Regions from separate parts of the Homo sapiens genome. Here region 1 is linked to region 2. Evidence: promoter capture Hi-C in 16 types of primary human blood cells and fetal thymus (Javierre and others, 2016). All regions are on one chromosome and are shown on one strand. The core of a region is centred on a gene start or on the middle of the fragment in contact, and the rest is flanking DNA. Distances in the headings are between cores, read along the strand shown.

What was found. The method cuts DNA at HindIII sites, captures the fragments that hold promoters and counts their contacts. A CHiCAGO score of 5 or more calls a contact.
Region 1: a contact is called between a fragment that was not itself captured here and the fragment with the promoter of OR4C15 in region 2, in 5 of 17 cell types (erythroblasts, endothelial precursors, M2 macrophages and 2 more). The highest score is 12.6, in erythroblasts.

The regions. Positions count from the first base shown.
Region 1 is chr11:54,540,912-54,546,330 of GRCh38, reverse strand. No RefSeq gene overlaps it. Among named protein-coding and RNA genes, the nearest start is that of OR4C46, 60 kb to the left of the region's middle. RefSeq lists enhancers at 476-997, 998-1,519. The HindIII fragment of the contact is 2,894 bases long and covers 422-3,315 here.
Region 2 is chr11:55,550,639-55,556,056 of GRCh38, reverse strand. It overlaps OR4C15 (olfactory receptor family 4 subfamily C member 15), which reads right to left and starts at 1,588. Exons shown (of 1, transcript NM_001001920.3): 1 at 638-1,588. The coding sequence starts at 1,588. The coding sequence ends at 638. The HindIII fragment of the contact is 1,344 bases long and covers 1,577-2,920 here.

The DNA of each region.
Region 1 (5,419 bases), core at 619-3,118, 1.0 Mb after region 2:
GCAGATTCTACGAAAAGAGTGTTTCAAACCTGAACTATTAAAGGAAGTTCCAACTCCGTGAGTTGAATGCAAACATCACAAAGAATTTTCTGAGAATGCTTCTGTTTATTTATGTGATATTTATCCCGTTTCCAACGAAATCCTCAGAGAGGTAAAAATGTCCACTTGCAGATTTTACAAAAAGTGTGTTTTGAAACTGCTCCATCCAAAGGAATGTTCAGCTCTGTGAGTTAAACTCAATCATCACAAAAATTTTCTGAGAATGCTTCTGTCTAGTTTTTATATGAAGTTATTTCGTTTAGTACCGTAGGCTGCAAAGCAGTCCAAATTTCCACTTGCAGATTCTTCAAAAAGAGTGTTTCAAAACTGATATATCAAAAGGAGTGTTCAACTTGTGAGATGAATGCAATCATCACAGAGAAGCTTCTGAGAATGCTTCTGTCTAGTTTTTATGTGAGGATATACCCGTTTCGAACGAAGGCCACAAAGTGGTCCAAATATCCACTTACAGATTCTACAAAAACAGTGTTTCAATCCTGAACTATCAAAGGAAATTTCAACTCTGTGTGTTGAATGCAAACTTCACAAAGATGTTTCTGAGAATGCTTCTGTTTAATTACGTCAATTTTATCCCTTTTACAATGGAATCCTCAAAGTGGTCCAAATACCCACTTGCAGATTATGCCAAACGTGTGATTTGAAACTGCTCCATCAAAAGGAATGCTCAGCTCTATGAGTTTCTGAGAATGCTTTTGTCAGGTTTTTACATGAAGTTATTTCCTATACTATCATATGCCTCAAAGCAGTCCAAATCTCCACTTGCAGATTCTACAAAAAGAGTGTTTAAAAACTGCTCTATCAACAGGAGTGTTCAACTCTGTGAGTTGAATGCAATCATCACAGAGAAGTTTCTGAGAATGCTTCTGTCTAGTTTTTTGTGAAGATATTTCCTTTTCCACCACAGGCCTCGCAGTGCTCCAAATGTCTACTTGCAGATTATACAAAAAGAGAGTTTCAAAACTGTTCTATCAAAAGAAAGTTTCAACTTTCTGAGTTGAATACGCACATCACAAAGTAGTTTCTGAGAATGCTTCTGTCTAGTTTTTATATGAAGATATTTCCTTTGCTAGCATAGGCCTCAAAGTGCTGCCAATGTCCAGTTGCAGATTCTACAAAAAGAGTGTTTAAAGACTGCTCTATCAATAGGAAGTTTCAAATCTCTGATGTGAATGCAGACATCACAAGGAAGTTTCTGATTTTTCTTCTGTCTAGTTTTTATGTGAAGGTATAGCCGTTTTGAACGAAGGCCACACAGTGGTCCAAATATCCACTTGCAGATTCTACAAAAAGAGTGTTTCAAACCTGAACTATCAAAGGAAGTTTCAACTCTGTGAGTTGAATGCAAACATCACAAATAAGTTTCTGAGAATGCTTCTGTTTAGTTCTGTGAAATATATCCCATTTCCAAAGAAATCCTCAAAGAGGTCCACATATCCAAATGCAGATCCTACAGAAAGTTTGTTTCGAAACTGCTCCATCAAAAGTAATGTTCAGCTCTGTGAGGTGAGCTCAATCATCACAAAGAAGTTTCTGGGAATGCATCTGCCTAGTTTTCATATGAAGTTATTTCCTTTACTACCATAGGCCTCAAATCGGTCCAAATATCCACTTGCAGATTCTACAAAACGAGTGTTTCAAAACTCTCTGTCAAAAGGAATGTTCAACTCTGTGAGTTCAATGCAATCATCACAAAGTAGTTTCTGAGAATGCTTCCATCTAGTTTTCATGTATAGATATTTCCTTTTCCACCACTGGCCACAAAGCCCTCCAAATGTCCACTTGCAGATTCTAGAAAAAGCGTGTTTCAAAACTACTCTATCAAAAGGAATGTTCAACACTGTGAGTTGAATGGAAACATCACAAGAAGTTTCTGAGAGTGCTTCTGTTTAATTTTTAGGTGAAGATATTCCGTTTCCAATGAAATCCTCAAAGAGGTGCAAATATCCACTTGCAAATTCTACAGAAAGAGTATTTCCAAACATCTGTTACAATAGGAATCTTCAACACTGTGAGTTGAATGCAATCATCACAAAGAAATTTCTGAGAATGCTTCTATCTAATTTTTATGGGAATATATTTCCTTTTCCACCACAGGCCTCAAAGTGCTCCAAATGTCCAATTGCAGATTCTAAGAAAAGAATGTTTCAAAACTGCTCTATGAAAAGCTGTGTTAAACTCTGTGAGTTGAATACAAACTTCACAAAGAAGTTTCTGAGAGTGCTTCTGTTTAGTTTTTATGTGAAGGTATTCCCTTTTCCATAGAAATCTTCAAAGAGGTCCAAATATACACTTGAAGATTCTGCAGAATAGTGTTTCAAACTGCTCTTCTTAAAGGAATGTTCAGCTCTATGAGTCAAATGCAATCATCTCAACGTAGTTTCTGAGAATGCTTCTCTCTAATTCTTATGTCAAGATTTTTCCTTTTCCACCACAGGCCTCAAAGCTCTCCAAATGTCCCCTAGCAGATACTACAAAAGAAAGTTTCAAAAATGCTCTATGGAAAGCAATGTTAAACTCTGTGAGCTGAACACAAACATCACAAAGTTGTTTCTGAGAATGCTTTTGTTTAGTACTTAAGTGAAGATACAACCGTTTCCTATGAAATCTTCAAAGAGGTCCAAATATCCAGTTGTAGATTCTACAAAAAGAGAGTTTCAAAACTGCTCTATCAATAGGAATGTTCAACTCTGTGAGTCGAATGCAATCATCACAGAGTAGTTTCTGTGAACGCTTCTGTCTAGTTTTTATATGAAGATATTTCCTTTTCCACCACAGGCCTCACAGCGCTCCAAATGTCTACTTGCAGATTCCACAAAAAGAGAGTTTCAAATCTGCTCTATCAAAGGAAATGTTCAACTTTCTGAGTTGAATGCACACATCACAATGAAGTTTCTGAGAATGCTTCTGTCTAGTTTTTATATGAAGATATTTACTAGCATCGACCTCAAAGCATGCCAATGTGCAATTGCAGAATATACAAAAAGAGTGTTTCAAGACTGCTATAACAAAAGGAACTTCCAACTCTCTGAGTTGAATGCAGAAATCACAAGGAAGTTTCTGAGAATGCTTCTGTCTAGTTTCTTTGTGAAGATATACCCGTTTCAAACGAAGGCCAAAAAGTGGTCCAAATATCCCCTTGCAGACTCTACGAAGAGACTGTTTCCAACCTGCACTGTCAAATTAAGTTTCAACTCTGTTCATTGAATGCAAACATCACAAATAATTTTCTGAGAATGCTTCTGTTTAGTTATGTGAAGCTTATCCCATTTCCAACGAAATCCTCAAAGAAGTCCAAATATCCACTTGCAGATTGTACAAAAAGTGTGTTTTGAAACTGCTCCATAAAAAGGAATATTCAGCTCTGTGTGTTGAACTCAATCATCACAAAGAAGTTTCAGAGAATGCTTCTGTCTAGTTTTTATATGAAGTTATTTCCTTTACTACCGTAGTCCTCAAAACAGTCCAAATGTCCACTTGCAGATTCTACAAAAAAAGTGTTAGAAAACTGCTCTATCAAAAGGAATGTTCAACTCTGTGGGTTGAATGCAATCATCACAAAGTGGTTTCTGATAATTCTTCTATCTAGTTGTTATATGAAGATATTTGCTTTTCCACCAGAGGCCTCAAAGCCCTCCAAATGTCCACTTGCAGATTCTCGAAAAAGAGTGTTTCAAAACTGCTCAATCAAAAGGAATGTTCAACCCTCAGAGTCGAATACAAACAACACTAAGCAGTTTCTGAGAATGCTTTTGTTTAGTTTTTATGTGAAGATTATCCCGTTTCCAACGAAATCTTCAAAGAGGTCCAAATATCCCCTTGCAGATTCTACAAAAAGAGTGTTTCAAAACTGTTGTTCCAAAGGGAATGTTCAACTCTGTGAGTTGAATGCAATCATCAGAGAGAATTTTCTGAGAATTATTCTGTCTAGTTTTTATGTGAGGATATTTCCTTTTCCACCACAGGCCTCAAAGCCCTCCAAATGTCCACTTGCAGACTCTAGAAAAAGAGTGTTTCAAAACTGCTCCATCAAAAGGAATGTTCAACTCTGTGAGTTGAATGCAAACATCAGATAGAAATTTCCGAGAATGCTTCTGTTTAGATTTTATGTGAAGACAATCCCGCTTCCAACGAAATCTTCAAAGACGTCCAAATATCCCCTTGCAGATTCTACAAAAACAGTGTTTCAAAACTGTTGTTCCAAACGGAATGTTCAACTCTGTGAGTTGAATGCAATCATCAGAGAGAATTTTCTGAGAATTCTTCTATCTTCTTTTTATGTGAAGATATTTCCTTTACCACCACTGGCCACACAGCACTCTTAATGTCTTCTTGCAGATTCTACAAAAAGAGTGTTTGTTTGAAACGTGAACTATCAAAGGAAGTTTCAACTCTGTGAGTTGAATGCAAACATCACAAAGAATTTTCTGAGAATGTTTCCGTTTAGTAATTTGAAGTCTATGCGTGTTCCAACGAAATACTCAAAGAGGTCCAAATATCCACTTACAGATTCTACAAAAGTGTGTTTCAAAACTATCTCATCAAGAGGAATGTTCAACTCTGTGAGTTGAATTCACCAAACACAAAGAAGTTTCTGAGAATGCATCTGTCTAGTTTTTGTATGAAGATATTTCCTTTACTACCATAGGCCTCAAATTTTTCCAAATATCCACTTGCAGATTCTATAAGCAGAGTGTTTCAAAACTGCTCTGTCAAAAGGAACCTTCAACTCTGTGAGTTGAATGCAATCATCACAAAGAAGTTGCTGAGGATCCTTCTCTGTAGTTTTTATGGGAAGATATTTCCTTTTCCACCTAAGGCCTCACTGCCCTCCAAATGTCCACTTGCAGATTCCAAAAAAATAGTGTTTCAAAACTGATCTACCAAAAGAAAGGTTCAACTCCTTGAGTTGAATGCACAGATCATGAAGAAATTTCTGAGAATGCTTCTGTCTAGTTTTAACATTAAGATATACCCGTTTCCAAAGAATTCCACATAGCAGTCAAATATCCACTAGCAGAATCTACAAAAGGGTATTTCAAAACGGCTCTATCTAAAGGAATATTCAACTATTTGGGTTGAACGCACACGTCACAAAGAAGTTTCTGAGAATGCTTCCGTCTAGTTTTTATGAGAAAATATTTCCTTTTTCAGCATAGGCCCCAAAGCGTTCCAAATATCCACTTGCAGATTCCAACAAAACAGTGTTTCAAAACCGCTCTATCAAAAGGAATGTTCAACTCTGTGGGTTGAATGCACCCATCACAACAAAGTTTCTGAGAATGCTTCTTTCTAGTTTTTTTGGGAAGATATTTACTTTTTCAACAAAGGTTTCAAAGCGTTCCAAATATCCACTCGCAGA
Region 2 (5,418 bases), core at 339-2,838:
CAAGAGTGAGGACAGCAGCTGCTGCCAAGCTCAGAGACAAGCAAGCCATCCATGAACTGCAGCTTTAAGCTGATTAGAGAGGTAGGCAACAACCTGGAAGATGGGTCCCTTAGACTGGGTTAGAACACCTACTGCAACTCCATGCTGGTTAGCGGTATAGAGGGAGAAAGGTTTGGTGAGGTCTGGGAGAGTGAGAATGGGGGCTGATGTGAGAGCCTTCTGGAGGATGGAAATGTTGGGTAATAGGCTGTGTGGGGTTTAAAGGCTCATGGAGAGGGCCTTTAGCCGCCTGGTATAACGGTTTGGCAAGTAGAGTGAAGGAGGGAACCCAGAGCCTAAAATAAACCACTAGTCCTAGAAAAGAGAGAATGTCTTGCTTAGTTTGCAGAGGTGGAAGGGAGTGGAGGTGCAATATGCAGTTGGTTGTGAGCCCTTGGAGTCACGGGGTAAGACTAGGCCTATATAGGTGACTGAGGAGGTGCATATTTGTGCTTTCTGAGGGTGGACACATAAGTTTTCTGATCCCACATTAATGATTTTTTTCTAGCATTACTTTATCTCTTGCCATGAAAGATGTATCTCATTAAGTTTTTATTTAAGGCCATTTTGACCTTTTTTACTCTTAACTTTGGATTTTTTAAAGTTTAATATTTTCTTTCTCATCAGAAACCACCATCAGTCTGTTCCATATTCTCCTCATGGCCTGTTTTACTTCCTTATTCCTGAAAGTGTAAATCAAAGGATTGAGCAAGGGATTTAAGATGATATAAAATATTGCCGCCATTTTGTCAAGGGAAAAAGCAGATGGAGGTCGTGTATATACAAATATGCATGGGACAAAGAACAAAATCACAACAGCAATGTGAGATCCACAGGTGGAGAGAGCTTTCCAGCGCCCTTCAGAACTGTGTGTTCTCAGAGAGAGCAAGATGACAGCATAGGAGACAAGCAACAAGGAGAAGTTTATGATGCAGATAAACCCACTGTTGATGACCACCATGAGGCCAAAGATGTGAGTATCAGTGCAGGCAAGCTCCAGTAACGGGTACAAGTCACACATAAAGTGATTGATGACATTGGGGCCACAAAAGGGAAGCTGGAAAGTAAAAAGAATTTGTATCATGGAATGCAAGAGGCCCCCTGTCCAGGCTACCCCCATCAGAATGCCACAGAGCCTCCTGTTCATGATAGAAGAGTAATGCAAGGGCTTGCAAATGGCCACATAACGATCATAGGCCATGGCTGTGAGGACAATCACCTCCACCCCAGCAAAGAAGTGTTCAGCAAAGAGCTGCATCATGCAGCCTTCAAAAGAGATGGTTTTTGTCACATAGAGGGAGTCTACAATCATCTTTGGGGTGATGACAGATGAGAAGCACGCATCCAGGAAGGACAGGAAGCCCAAGAAGAAGTACATAGGAGACACCAGAAGAGCAGGGCTGCTGAGAATGGTTACTACAATTAGCATGTTGCCCCCAACAGTTGCAATGTAGACAAACAAAAATACAACAAATACTATTTCCTGAACATTTGGATTCTGTGAAAGTCCCAGGAGGACAAACTCAGTTACAAAGCTTTGGTTTTGCATGTTTCCCAAGGAAAAGATGAAAGCTCCAACAGGGATCATGTATAGTCTGCAATTAGGACAAAGGAAAATTTGCTTCAGATCAATTTGTGGTATCATAGTCATTAACAAGTTGGTACATCCAAGTGCAAAATTATTGAGTGCTTCTGTTGTCATTGAGAACATAAATTAGAAATTATTGAAGGTAGTACTGAAATATCAGACAGAATTGTGATAGAGATAATTTAAAGAATACTTGAAAGAAACAAGAGGTTCAATATGGGGGAAGGATATGTGGTAGAGAAGAGAAAGAGTTTTCATATCAAGTGCCAGCTTTGATCATTTACTAGTGGCTTCCTGGAGTGAATTATTGAGAAGTATTCTGAAGTTACCTCTAAATTTTGAGAGAAGGAGCATTGTAACTTATTACTTATTTCTGCCATTGGCATCAAATGAGAGCAGGGATGACCAGCATCCCATTCCTAATCGGGAGACTGCTTTATCTGCAACTAGAAGAAAACAGCGTATAGTTCAAGAGGCACTTAAAAATTATGGCTGCTCTTCAAATATTTCTTTAAAAGTCTTAACTGAATTCATTCTTTACAAAAGAGAAAGATCTTTAGAAAAATCTCTAGCCTGACATTTAAAACATAAAAAGTATGCATTAAGTGCGGAGTGTTTTCTTAAATCTGTCATTTTAAAATGAAAACAGAAGTTTATTATTATTATAAAAGTAATAATGCCTACAACAGAATGTTGTTATGATAACTGGTGAAACAATGGAAGGCTAAGGACCGACTGCCCTAGGGAATGGTCTGCATTAGGTCTTATTATTCCTATTTGATTGGTGGGAAACTCATGCTTAAAGAAGTTAAGTTTAAGCAAATAACAGACAATCTGGGATATTAACACAAAATCTCAGGCTCCAACACCCAATTCCTTTCCACTAGATCAGCAGGGAAAGGAGTGGGGATATTCCTTTTCCAGTAAGAACTTCAAAGTAGGAATGGCCTTTCTACAAACACTTGCATGTACAAATTGGCATCAACCACATAAGTAAGGAAGAGAAACAATATATTGAATATAAACCGGAATCTTGAGGCTTTATTAATTATTTTCCAATTATTTATATAAAGTAATCAGGTCTAATGAAGTTTAATTCCTAAAAGAAGTGTATATTTCAACTTTATATGCATTATTGTGTAGCAGAGGTGTTTATATATAGCTTACCTGCTCATGTCTCAGGATTATGATGATGGTCAGATTTGAAAATGTGAAAATTTTACTTATAATAAAGTGCTCTTACCAATTGTATTTACTCACTTAAAAAGTCAGCCACCTTATCTACAAAAAGCTTTTTCATGAGTCATCTAGATAATTACTCTCCAACTTTTGACTTCATTTCCACAGGCAGACACAGCTTTAAAGGATAATTCTGTCTTCACCTATATATATATAATTGAAATGTGTTTTTCAATTACCATATATAAGTGTGTGTTTGAATATTTGTATATGTGTATATTTATATGTGTATACACCTTTGTTAAAAAATAAGTGAATAAAAAAGAATAAAGAGATTTATTTTGAGATTTAAATAAGCTGATTTTTATGAATGTCACTTGGAGTTAACAGAAACAATTTAAAATGTTAATAAAACTAACAAATATACAATTGTGTATGTTAATATATGTTCTTTTGCTTATTTTAAAACAATCATTTCCATTATGTTTTCAGTTTCATTTGTAACCAGTGTCTGCACTAGGAATTCCATATACAGTTATAAGTTATCATCAGGAAAATATGAGCTGGAACAAACCTTATAAGGTTATTAGATAAGTCAATAACCATTTATTGCAAAGGAAAGCATGTTAGTAAATGATCCAACAGTGCTCAGCTTAGCCGAGAGCCAAAGTGGGAAATACGATGAAGTGAAATGAGTAAGAACTTCAGTTCCAGACTCATATAGACGTAGGTTCAAATCCAAGCTCTCCTACTTGTTCTATGGCATGTTAGAACAAGTCACTTCAAATTCTTAACATTCTCAAAGCCTCAGCTTCCACTTCAGTAAATGGATATGATGTCTATCTATACATATCTTGTGAGTATAAGAAAGCAATACACACAAAAGCACTGATGCAGTAAGAAGCATAGAAGATCATGATGAGTGGTGAGAACAAGCCCTCAGAGCCATTGACACAGAGCAGAAATAACATTTTTACACTAATTTTTGCTTTACCAAGACCAAGGTGGTTTTACTCATCCTTTAACACATGGACACAGGAAGGGGAGCATCACACACCGGGGCCTGTTGTGGGGTGGGGGGAGTGAGGAGGGACAGCATTAGGAGATACACCTAATGTTAAATAACGAGTTAATGAGTGCAGCACACCAACATGGCACATGTATACATCTGTAACTAACCTGCACGTTGTGCACATGTACCCTAAAGCTTAAAGTATAATAATCAAAAATTTAAAAAAAAGAAAATGTGCCACATATACACTATGGAATACTATGCAGCCATAAAAAAGGATGAGTTCATGTCATTTGTAGGGACATGGATGAAACTGGAAACCATCATTCTCAGCAAACTATCACAAGGACAAAAAAACAAACACTGTATGTTCTCACTTATAGGTGGGAATTGAACAATGAGAACACTTGGACACAGGAAGTGGGACATCACACACCGGGGCCTGTTGTGAGGTGGGGGTAGGGGGGAGGTATAGCATTAGGAGATATACCTAATGTAAATGACGAGTTAATGGGTGCAGCACACCAACATGGCACATGTATACGTATGTAACAAACATGCACGTTGTGCACATGTACCCTAGAACTTAAAGTATAATAAAAAAATTTTAAAAGAGAAAAAAATAAAAATAAAAATAAATTTTGAAAAATGTTAAATATTTTATTTGGTCTGTCTCAGTGCAGACATGATATTTTAAAATGCACAACACTTTTAAATGTCTTTAGTAATCCCTGAATAAAGTACTGTGGCCCCCATTCTGTCAAATATCCACTTCTATTTCAAATAGCTTCATTGTACATAGAAAACTCCATAAAAGTTGGAGATGGAAAGAAAGACAAGGCTCTATATTAATCTAATAATTAAACAATTCTTAATCTCTCCACTTCCTTTAGCTGGGCTGTTCTAAGAAGAATAACATTTTAGAATTAAAATATTTAGTAGATATAAAGAAACCAACCACTTATTTCAGATAAAAGGAATTTCCAAAATTAGTGTGGAAACTTTGACAATAGAAAGTATAGCATCTTCATAATGTATGATAACAAGATTTATGGTTTTAAATCATTTTAAAAGAGTCTTAAATGTGATGTGTTGCTTAAGATTGAATCCTAGAATAGAAAAAAGACAGGAGAAAAAATAGTCAAATATGAATAAACCTGGTGTTTAGTTAATAGTATATATCAACGTTCATTTCATAGTCTTCACAAATAGTAGTGTAAGAAGAAAATATTAAGGGAAACTAAGTGAGTAGTATACAGAAGCTCTCTATACTATCTTCACAACCTTTCTCTTAATCTAAAATTACTTCTAATGAAAAGTTAATTAAAAAGTAATTTTTTTCTGCTATCAAAAAGATAGCAATCTCTGCTTCATCTACTAGCCATGTATCATGAACAAAGCGCTATGTTTCAGCATCCTCTGCTATAAAATAGGTAGCAATACCTGAAGCTTCCTGACCCATGAGAGTCCAATAGACAGTTATTGTGAATGTACTTTGCAAAGTATAAATTAAAAGGAAGATATGAAATCTTTATGTCAACATTATTTTTAAGCAGCATCTACATACACAAAGTGAGCTGGAAAATTGAATCGATCATAA